2 separate regions of the Homo sapiens genome follow, and region 1 is linked to region 2. The links are contacts of gene promoters, found by promoter capture Hi-C in blood cells and fetal thymus (Javierre and others, 2016). All regions are on one chromosome and are shown on one strand. Each heading gives the region's core, a stretch centred on a gene start or on the middle of the fragment in contact. The rest is flanking DNA. Distances are from core to core; before and after follow the strand shown.

Region 1 (5,605 bases), core at 644-3,143, 67 kb before region 2:
GAAGAGCCCAGGCCACTGTGGGTCTTTACCGTTTCCTCTCCCACCCCCACCCTGCCCCAGAGAGAAGCTTCTAAAGAAGGCTTTTCAATTCTCTGTGCTGGGTGCCTTACAACACCTCCCCAACAAGCCCACACTGTTCTCATCCTGCCTCCGGCCAACCCTGCTCCAAAAAGGGGACGCTGTCACCAACAACCATAGGAAATAATTAGACTGCAGCTGGGATATTTTGCTGAATGTTAATCGTTTTCATTTGTGTGGTCTGAAATAAGTACTTCTATGCCCCAGGAGAAGGCCACATACATGCTGGACACGTGTGGCTGAGAAAGACCCCTCGCAAAGCCCCGGCTCTGCCCAGAGAAGCCCGTTCCTTGGCATCGTCTGAATGCACACTAACAGCAGAGAGGAAGGGTGAGTGGGAACTACTTGTTTCTGTATTTTTTTTTTTTTTTGACAGAGTCTGGGTCTTTGGCCCAGGCTGGACTGCAGTGGTGCTATCTCAGCTCATTGCAAGCTCTGCCTCCCGGGTTCACGCCATTCTCCTGCCTCAGCCTCCTGAGTAGCTGGGACTACAGGTGACCACCACCACGCCCGGCTAATTTTTTTTGTATTTTTAGTAGAGACGGGGTTTCACCATGTTAGGATGGTCTTGATCTCCTGACCTAGTGATCCGCCCACCTCGGCCTCCCAAAGTGCTGGGATTACAGGCGTGAGCCACCGCGCCCGGCTGTTTCTGTATTTTTTGAAAAGCCTCACGTATTTGGACTAATGGCTAAATGCTGATAAATCAGAGCAAGATCTGGGCTATGGCAAGTTTACACATTTATTGAGCTAGGAGGTCCAAGATGACTCAGACCAACTCCTGGGGCTGTTGAAAGATGGAGCAGCCCAAGTGCTCAGGCTCACAGAGAACCAGGTAAAGCTGCAGGGAACGGTCAGACCGGACTCGGGGGAGGCACGGCTGCCAGAGCTGAGTGCTGAGGGGCAAGAAGGAATCCACCAGACTTAAGTGCACAGGACACAGAAGTGATCAAAGGGCCCAAGGCCAGAAGAATTTGACAAAGGATCTTGCAAATGAACAAATAAGAAATCTTTGCTATTAACGATAGAGGGGTTTGTCTGCTGCTATGCATTTTCTTGAACTCTCTCTCTGGAATCTAACTCAGCGCTCACTTGCTGGGTGTCTGCAGTATGAAAGCACAGCACAGGCAGCAGGGAGAAAGGTCTGCTGTCACACACACAGCCAGCCTCGTCCTTCAGTGTCCACCCCAGATGCCACCATCTGATCATTCAGCAACAGGATCTCGAGTCCCTGGGGCACCCGCATGCCAGCAAGCATGCCCAAGCTGGAGGGATTGGTCTCCTTTCTGACCTGCGTCTGCCATTCACTTGTTTTCCCAGGTCTTTTATTACTTCCCATCTTACATAGTAATAATCTGCATCTGTCCTAGCTTCCCCAAAGAGTTACATTCTCCAAGAGGACAGGCACTAGCTTTGATATCGTCACATCTCTTACAGCACTAAAGAGAGTATCAGTAAATCTCCCTTTGAATGAATTAATAATAAAGGTAAGAGCTCCCATCAGTGCCCTGCCAAGCACTGTGCTAGAAGCTTCATAATATCTCATGGACCCTCACAAGCAGCCTGCAAGGTGGGTCATATTATTTGCACTTTACAGTCAGGGAAAGGAGAATTAAAGAGACAAGGAGACAATCCTAAGTCACCCTGCTGGGAAGTAGCTGACCCAGGATCATACTGGGGAAGGTCTGACTCCACAGTTGTGCCCTCAACACTATGGAGAAAGTGCTTAAAGCTCGTTGAAAAGTGTGTGGCTTTGGACACAACATCTTCCCCACAATGGACTTCTGCTTTAAATTTGCCTGGCAATCACTTTCTTTGCAAATTCAGAAAGGTCACCTTCTGTCAAACTTATTTCAACAATTATTACAAACATAAATTAATGAGTCTGAGTTATTGGGGATGTATATTTACACATTAAAAACAACCACAAAAAAGTAATTCAAGAAAATGCCCAGGAAGGCATAAGAAAGGCATATGCTATCATCTTGAGGCAGGACTTATTTCTGGTAAATGGGTTCAGTAGGAGGCTATTGAGTGAATTACCAAATGAATGAATGTACAAATGAATGAATGAGTGAATGCATGAACTGGGTAAGCTTTTAGGAAACTCTTGCACTGTTTTTCTCCACTCCCCTCAAGTCCCAACTTGTTGTTAACCTGGATTTCTGTTTAAAAAAAGAAAATAGGCAATTTCAGCCGGGCGTGGTGGCTCATGCCTATAATCCCAGCACTTTGGGAGGCTAAGGCAGGCGGATCACTTGAGGTTGGGAGTTCGAGACCAGCCTGACCAACATGGAGAAACACCATCTCTACTAAAAATACGAAATTAGCGGGGTGTGGTGGCGCATGCCTGTAATCCCAGCTATTCGGGAGGCCGAGATGGGAGAATCGCTTGAACCCAGGAGGAGGAGGTTGTAGTGAGCTGAGATCGTGCCATTGCACTCCAGCCTGGGCAACAAGAGTGAAACTCCGTCTCAGGAAAAAAAAAAAAAAAAAAAGGCAAGTTGAATAGAATTATATCTATTGAAGAAAATAAATAAATAATTAATAATCTTCTAAAACAGAAAGGACCAGGCACAGATGAGTCACTGGTGAATTCTACCAAATATTTAAGAAATAAATTAAATCAATTTTCTATGATCTCTTCCAAAAGATAGAAGCATAGGGAACACTCATTGTATGATGCCCATATTACCCTCAATACCAAAACCAAAGGCATTCCAAGAAAAAAAACAACAACACTATTGACCAATATCTCTCATGAATTTAGCTGCATAATCTTCAACAAAATATTAGCAAATCAAATCCAAAATGTATAAAAATAAGTATTCACCATAACCAAGTGGGATTTATCCCATGTATAAAAGGTTGATTCAAATTTGAAAATCAATTAATGTAATCCATCACATCAACAGGCTAAAGAAGAAAATCACAAGATTATATCAACAGATGCAAAAAAAAGCACGTGACAAAATTCAAAACTGACTCATGATGAAAACTCTCAACAAACAAGGAATAGAAGGAAATTTCCTCAAGTTGATAAAGGACAGCTATGAAAAACCTACAGCTAATGTCATACGTTAATGGTAAGAAACTAGACATTTTCCCACTAAGATCAGGAACGAGGCAAGGATGTCCTCTCTTGACACTCCTTTCTGATATCATATGGGAGGTTATGGTTATTGCAGAGACAAGAAAATAAAATAAAAGATATACAGGTTAAGAAGTAAAAAATGCAAATATTTTTGTTCACAGATTACATGATTATCTATGTAACAAACCTGGAAGAATAAAAACAAAACAAAAAAACCTCCTGGAACTAATAGGTAACTATAGTAATGTTTCAGGGTATAAAGTTAATACAAAAAGTTAGTCACTTTTCTGTATGCCAGAAGTGAACAAGTGAAATTTAAAATTAAAAACACAATCCTATTTATATTAGCATCCCTAAATATGAAATACCTAGGCATAAACCTAACAAAATATGTACAAGATCTATATTAAAACTCTGATGAAAGAAATCAAATAACAACTAAATAAATGGAGAGACATTCCGTGTTCACGGATAAACAAATTTAAAACTGTCAGGATGTCAGTTCTTTCACTTGATCTACAGATTCAATGCAATCCCAGTCAAAATCTCCACCAAGTTATTTTGTGGATGTCAACAAACTGATACTAAAGTTTATACAGAGAGGCAAAAGACTCACAATAGCCAACGCAATATTGAAGGAGAAGAACAGAGTTGGAGGACTGACACTACCTGACCCCAAGACTTAACTATAAAGCTTCAGTAAAATAATCAACATCATTGGAACAGAATGGAGAGCCTTTCTGATATCATACAGGAAGTCATGGCTGTTGCAATGAGACAAGAAAATAAAAGGTATACAGATTAAGAAGTAAAAATGCAAATATTCTTGTTCACAGATTACATGATTATCTATGTAACAAATCTGAAGGAAAAAATCCAACAGAATGGAAGAGAAATAGACCCACATAAATATGGTCAACTATGTTTAACAAAGGAGTGAAGGCAATACAAAGGCAGAAAGATTGATGGTCTTTTCAACATACGGTGCTGGGACAACTGTAAATCCATATGCAAAAAATGAATCTACACACAGGCTTTATACCCTTCACAAAAAATTAACTCAAAATAGATCATAGACCTAAATGTAAGATGCAAAATTATAAAACTCTAGAAAATAACAGAAAAAAATCTAGATGACCTTGGATAAGGGGATGACTTTTTAGATACAATACCAAAAACATGACCCATAAAAGAAAGAATTGATACATTGAACCTCATAATGATTAAAAACTTCCTGCTCTGCAGAAGACACTGTCAAGGTAATGAGAAGACAAGCCACAGACTGGAGAGAAAACATTTGCAAAGAACATATCTGATAAAGGATTTTTATCAATAATGTACAAAAAAAACTCTTAAAACTCACAATAAGAAAATAAACAATCCCATTAAAAAAACAGGCAAAGACCAGAACAGACACATCAACAAAGAAAACATATGGATGGAAAATAAGCATACATAAAGATGCTCATCATCATCTGTCTTTAGGGAATTGCTAATTAAAGCAACAATATGACACCACTACCCACCTATTGTAATAGCCAAAATCCGGAACACTGACAACACCAAATGCTGGTAAGGATTTGGAGCAACAGGAACTCTCATTTATTGCTTCAAATGCAAAATGGTACAGCTGCTTTGGAAGATAGTTTAGTGGTTTCTTATAAAACTAAACACACTTAACATATGATCCAGCAATTGCACTCCTTGGCATTTGCCCAAATGAGGTGAAAACTTATGTCCACACAAAAACCCACATATGTATGTATATAGCAGCTTTATTCTTAATTGCCCAAACTTGGAAGCAACCAAGATGTCTGTATTAGTCAGGATTCTCCAGAGAAACAAAAATCAATGCAATGAATATATAGACATATGAGAGGGGATTTATTAGGGAGATTGGTTCACACAGTTGTGGCTGAGGAGTCCCTTGAGAAGCCGTTTGCAAGGTGGAGTCCCTGAGATGCTGGCAGTGTGGCTTCTCATCTAGTCCACTTGGACTCAAATGCTAATCTCCTCTGGAAATACCCTCAGACAACACCCCAAAATAATGTTTTACCAGGTTTTTAGATATTCTTTAATATAGTCGACTCCTAAAATTAACCATCACAAGCCCACCCCTTGTCAACTTGGCACCTATATATATGCAACTCCTGAAATCATACTTAATTTCCAGATAAGATAATAATAAGGTAATAGTTTCACCTGACAGGATGCAGCTATCCTGCGTACAACCAAAAACACATTAATCCCTGATATAGTTTCGATTTGTGTACTGCCCAAATCTCATGTCAAATTGGAGGAGGGGCTTGGTGGGAAGTAACTGGATCATGGGATGGATTTCCCCCTTGCTGTTCTCATGATAGTGAGTGAGTTCTCACGAGATCTGATGGTTTAAAAGGTGACACTTTCCCCTTCTCTCTCTCTTTCCTGCCA
Region 2 (6,037 bases), core at 234-2,733:
GTTAAGGGCATGGTGGGTGACTGGTATCTTTTTCTAATGAGCAGCTGGGCAATGTGTAGCAACAGCTTCAGTAACATTCACAGACTTTGACTCACTTCTAGAAGTCTAACCAAAGAAATAATCAGAGATATGGACAAAGGTTTATGCATAAGGATGTTCATGCATTGTTCTTCCTTAATCATAATTTTAAGATAGAAACAACATAAGTGTCCACAGTAGTAGAGTATGTGTGTACGTATCTCCAATAATTTATTGAACAAATGTTTGCTGAGTGTCTTCTCTGGGCCAGGCTCTTTGAGAGTTCCCTGGAATCCAGTGGTACACAAAACAAACATGTCCACCTCCCGGAGCATGTCATCTAGTTACAATAACGGAAAAGACAGATGATCAGCTAGTTCCACAAATAAGTTAGGTGTTAATGAAGAAAAGTAGAGGATGAAGTAATTGCGTTTTTTTGCCATTAAAAGTAAATGTAACTTTTAATGGCAAAAACTGCAATTACATTTGCACCAACTTAATATTATATTACTAAATAATCAAAGAATACAGTAAAAAGCGGTATGGAAAACATGCTATGAATGTCTATTTATCATCTCAAGAAATGATCTTTTCGCCAAATGGGAGAGTTTTTCGAAAGTCCAGAAATGACCATTTATAAACTATTTACCATTCAACAGAGTGGATACAGCTATAACGACCAAAAACAAGAATGTTCAGAACCATCTCTATCAGAGTACTAAAAAGTAATAAAGATGAAACTTCTCAAGATATAATTTAAATAATACGCAAATATGATCCAATTTGAAAGAGGAAATTTGAAAGCCAAACCTCTCTGATAAAGTCTAAAAATAGAGAGGTATAAAACATAAGGAGGTGTAAGCTTTTCTCTTTCCACTCCACAGTACATTTGACAAAGGTTTACCCTCCTTAGGATTCCTCTTGGAACAATTATAAGAGTCAAATCACTAATGAGTAAAGAAACTGAGCAATGCATAGCAAAAACTTCAGAAAAATCCACAGACTTCGTCAAACTTCTAGAAGTTTAAGCAAGGAAGCAAGTGGAGATATGAACAAAGGTTTATGCCTAAAGATATTTGGGTGTTGTTCTTTCTCAATCATAATTGTGAAATTGAAGCAACATAAATATCCACAATAGTGAAGTATATGTTTACATATTTCCAATAATTCTTGGAGGAGTTGGGGTTTCATGTTGTTGTCTGCTAGACTCAGCAACGCTTTGGGAATACAGATCCTCCACGCCCTATTATTTAGGAATTCTACTCCTGTCATGATATGGTAGGCTAAACTTGCTTCCATGACACTTGGCCAAGGATTATAAATTAATTGCATGATTGAGGAAGTCCCTGGGAAGACCATGCCCACCCCTTGTTCATGCTGGTTGGCTGTAACCATAGCAGCCTCTTACTCCAGACCAAAGTTCAGCTACTGTTAATTTTATGGCCATGTTCAGAGTTCAATGTCCATTAGCATAACCCTTCCTCAGGAAGAGTGAGATTTTATATTTGACAATAAAGTGTTAGACTCCATTTCTAAATACCAGACTTCAAAAGATAAGGTTCAAAAGTGTTATAAGAAGATATTCCTTTTTTTGTCCTAGAGAACTTATTTTCCTGTGAAAATGCCTACCACAAAGAAGACATTGATGTTCTTATCAAGCTTTTTCACCAGCCTTGGGTCCTTCATTGTAATTTGCTCTATTCTTGGGACACAAGCATGGATCACCAGTACAATTGCTGTTAGAGACTCTGCTTCAAATGGGAGCATTTTCATCACTTACGGACTTTTTCGTGGGGAGAGTAGTGAAGAATTGAGTCACGGACTTGCAGAACCAAAGAAAAAGTTTGCAGGTAAATGATAAACTAATTTGAATGAATATAGTGAGATTGAATTAAGGTTTATGTCATTCTATATTTGGGCCAAATAACCATTCAAAAATAATTTCTTTGTAAGTTTTGGGTTAGGCTGAAGGTACAAGCTTAACTCATAATTTTGGAAATTTGCCATGTCATTATTTGAGCTTCCTCGGTTCTCCTTGTGTCTATTAATACAATAGTCTATATCATTCTAGCAGTGGCTGTATTTAAATAATACCTACCAAGTTGACTGACAAGTAAATAAGTAAAAATATGTGGCAGCAATACGGCATTGAATAGCCAGTAGGAACACATGTTTTAACTGTATTGACTGGGTTTTTAGCTGGAGCCACAACCTCTGTCTAGAACTTCACAAGTGGCATCTATGCAGGAAAGAGTAAAATGGAAAATTTATTATCTCTATTTCTCAAGTTCATTTCTTTAACTGATTTTAATTTACCTCCAAAAAATCTAATCGTTGGAAATTATATTAAATTTCCATTAATTTATTAATTGTATATTTGATAGGAATTCCTAAACATTTTTTTTTCTGATTTCTTATATAATAATGCCCTCCTCTCCATGGAAGTAAAATTAAAAGTTCATTGAGAATAATAAGTTGATTTAGCTACTTATTTGACTTTTGAGGTTTGATAACCTACCTTCATGTTTTCTAAATTTAAAAACATTTGTAAATTATGTAACACATTAAGTGGACTTTGTTTTGAACAATGTTGTATGCAAGTATTATACAGGCATTATTGGGTATCATACAGTCATTACCTTTTGACTTATAAATATGCATCATTTTCTACCTTATACACATGTAATGTTTAGTCCTTGTGTAATGCATGAAGAAGTTTGAGTCCTAGACACTAGCTCTAAGTTCTAGCTCTAGTGTGTTTATGACTTTGTTAATGAAACTATTTTCTTAAATCCAAAGCAACCTGGTTATGTTCCCAAGTTATACATTTGTCATTTAGATGTTAGCAAAAGCAGCATCTCCCCTAGCATTGCCATAGCCTTTCAGGGACATCTCCTCTGGTGTCAACCTCAGCTTCCCATAAGGATGGGGAACATTGGCTTTACAGCAACTTTCAGAGACTCAGTCATGCTTTCAGTTATGTGAATAGCATTTTCAAAACCAAAAACTGCCCTGAAGCCTCAGACACATTTAACAAATTTTAAGTAAGAGACAAAACCTACAGTTTTTTTTGGTTTCCATATGGTGTCTGTTTGGAACCAGTTGATTTCCAATTTGAGATAAATGGCTTCAAAGAAAGCATCAACTATCTCTATGCACGGAGACTCAGAGGAGGCCAGGATGTGTCAGGACCTGGCTCTAAAGCCCTGTGTGCATGCAGGTGAGCATGGTGATGTCAGGGGACCAGAGCAGGCACTTGTCAAGGAGAGCCCTGAAGGGGCCCAGGGCCAGGTAGGTGCGGCAGCCCAGGTGGGAGCACAGCCAGGCAGAATATTTGCCTTCCCTTTGCTGGATCTCTACTTTAAGTCTCTGTTACTGGGGAGCCACATTCTGACCTTCCCCAAGTCACTGCCCAACCTCCTAGTGCTGAAGAAGGTGAACCACCACCCAATTAATGAAGGGGCTGCACTGTCACTCTGGTTGACACCTAAGGACCTCTCAGAGCCTAGGGGATCTTTATTGCCAATGATTGTAATAATCGCTGGGCTTGAACACCTGTAAGCAGTTCTCTCAGACAGGGGAAAGTCATGTTACTGAAATCTTCAACTTGCGGTGTTCAGCTGCTAACGATCCCGGGATGCTTCTCCTGGGAGCAGCCCTGCAGTGTGTACATGGAGACGTGGGTGCTCTCCTGTGGTTTCTCGTGGTCACTTGGGGCTTTTTTCAAATCAGAAACCAACCATTGGCAGCACAATCAAATCTGTACAAACGCCCCTTTCTTGCCCAGCGGTGGTGGACTGACTGTTCCAATTGAGAATTTAACCATATCAGCTTCTTGGCTAGCATGAGGTCACATCAAGAGTCCCCCAAGAGTAATAATTATTGCAAAGCTCTGCTATATTTCTGCATGGTATTTATCATATTGAGCCAATTTTGACTGTAGATTTGAAACGAAATAGCAGAAGGAAGCAATGACAGCTGATTTCAAAGTGCCAAAATAATTCAGCCAACATTGGTCAATCTGTGGGGAAAATCGTCCTTCAGACCTGGTAAGGAAATCCTCCAGTGTGTAACTGGAGGGTGCGGGCAGCTCAGGCTGACTTGCTGCATCCTAGTTTGTCCAACATCCAGATGAAAAGTGACAGGTCCTGTATGTCCATCTGTGAGCAGGTTGTCTTTGCTACTCCCAAAGTTCTGGAGATCTAATTTCTGTTCAAAAAAACTTCCCTGAGCAGCTGCTGCATGTATAAGGGGCTCAGGATACTGAAAGGAATTGCACATGGTTCCTGGCCTTGGAGGGCTCACCATTCAGTGTGAGATTAAGACCCTTCCTCAGCTAAAATCAGTGCCCTGCACTCACTGCTGGAGCATGGTATGTGCAGGTCTGCATGCAAGCAAGGGGGTTGGGGGAAATGCATGTCTGCAAAGCCCAGTTGGAGGACAGAATCCTGAAAAATGAGCTGCTAGGAGGTGTAAGCTCACACTGTGGACACCCACCTCCTTCTCGGTTCTGGATCTTGGGTGCCATGTAAAAAGAAGTCATTCCTTTAACTCTGTGTTTTGAAAATGTGGTCAGGGCCCCGGAAGCACAATGTGCTCTGTTTCCTCACACTGGCAAACATGACAAAATGAGTCATTCACATTTAGGACATGGAATTCCTGTGAATGTCGTTTCAAATATTACTCAGCCTACGCACTGACCAGAACTTATTTTTTACAGAATCATTTTGACAGGAAAAGTGTTTATGATAGTTTTGTTGTTGTTGTTGTTGTTTTGTTTTTTCATCACCCAGGCTGCTTCACACCCAGACTGGAGTGCAGTGGCGCCATCTCGGCTCACTGCAATTTCCACCTCCTGAGTTCAAGCAATTCTCGTGCCTCAGCCTCCCTAGTAGCTGGGATTACAGGAATACACTACAACACCCGGCTAATTTTTGTATTTTTAGTAGAGACAGGGTTTCACCATGTTGGCCAGGCTGGTCTCAAACTCCTGACCTCAAGTGATCCACCCACCTCGGCCTCCCAAAGTGCTGGAATTACAGGCATGAACCACTGCGCCCGGCAAGATTTTTCTTTTCTTTTTTGAGACAGCGTCTTGCTTTGTCGCCCAGTCTGGAGTGCAGTGGTGTGATCATAGCTCACTGCAGCCTCTACCTCCTGGGCTCAAGAGATCTTCCTGCCTCAGCTTCTGGTGTAGCTGGGATCACCAGCACACACCACCACACCCAGCCACTTTTCTTACGTTTTGTAGAGACAGGGTGTCACCAGCCCAGGATGGACTTTATTATGAGAGATATTTCTCCTCATGTGACACTGCACTCTTTGTTCTCAGTTCCAAGAACAGTCTGATTTGCAGATGTGTGGGACTTTGAGCAATCACGTTGCCTACAGCGGAAGGTAGACTCACCTGGGATGCGGGTGAGGCATCCCCACCCTGGACCAAATGAATAGCAATCTCCGCGGGGTGAGGCCCTGACCTGCTCGTTTTTTAAAAATCTTCCCAGGTGATCCTAATTGAGTGTTGACAACAACCAGCTTCCACCAAGGCCAGGCACTAGATTGACAGGCATGGCTGTACTGGGTATTGTTTTTTAAGTCCTTTGGATGTGGCCTGCTTGAAATTAAATTAATTTATTGGCAAAAGCTCTGGACAACCTTGCAAAGGAAGCAAGGCAGACTGAGGGAAAGCTCAGCTCCCGGCTGGTCTTTGAGTGCTGCGTCCGAGTCAGGATTCACTGCAGCTGGCGGGAGTCTCTCCCCATCTGGCACTCCCCCACCCGCTAGTCTCTTTCCTCCACTAACCTCCATGTGTTCTCAGGGAGCTCAACATTGCACCATTAGGCCAGGCTAAAAATAATTAGAAAAATAGACCTTCTGCAGAAACTAATGAATTGCAAAGAGAAGAACAAATGAAGTTTATTTCTCCAGAATTCATAAAGAGCCCCCACCTTACTACTCCTACCCTGTCCACATAAGGAGATTCTCCTGGAGAGCAGGTTCATCATCTGCCCCCAGAGAT

What was found. The method cuts DNA at HindIII sites, captures the fragments that hold promoters and counts their contacts. A CHiCAGO score of 5 or more calls a contact.
Region 1: a fragment that was not itself captured here is called in contact with the fragment with the promoter of CLRN3 in region 2 in 1 of 17 cell types (monocytes); the score reaches 5.9 in monocytes.

The regions. Positions count from the first base shown.
Region 1 is chr10:127,955,863-127,961,467 of GRCh38, reverse strand. All of the region lies in intron 1 of PTPRE (protein tyrosine phosphatase receptor type E), which reads right to left. Among named protein-coding and RNA genes, the nearest start is that of PTPRE-AS1, 24 kb to the right of the region's middle. The HindIII fragment of the contact is 566 bases long and covers 1,611-2,176 here.
Region 2 is chr10:127,888,387-127,894,423 of GRCh38, reverse strand. CLRN3 (clarin 3) reads left to right here and starts at 1,483. Exons shown (of 3, transcript NM_152311.5): 1 at 1,483-1,868. The coding sequence starts at 1,640. The HindIII fragment of the contact is 797 bases long and covers 883-1,679 here.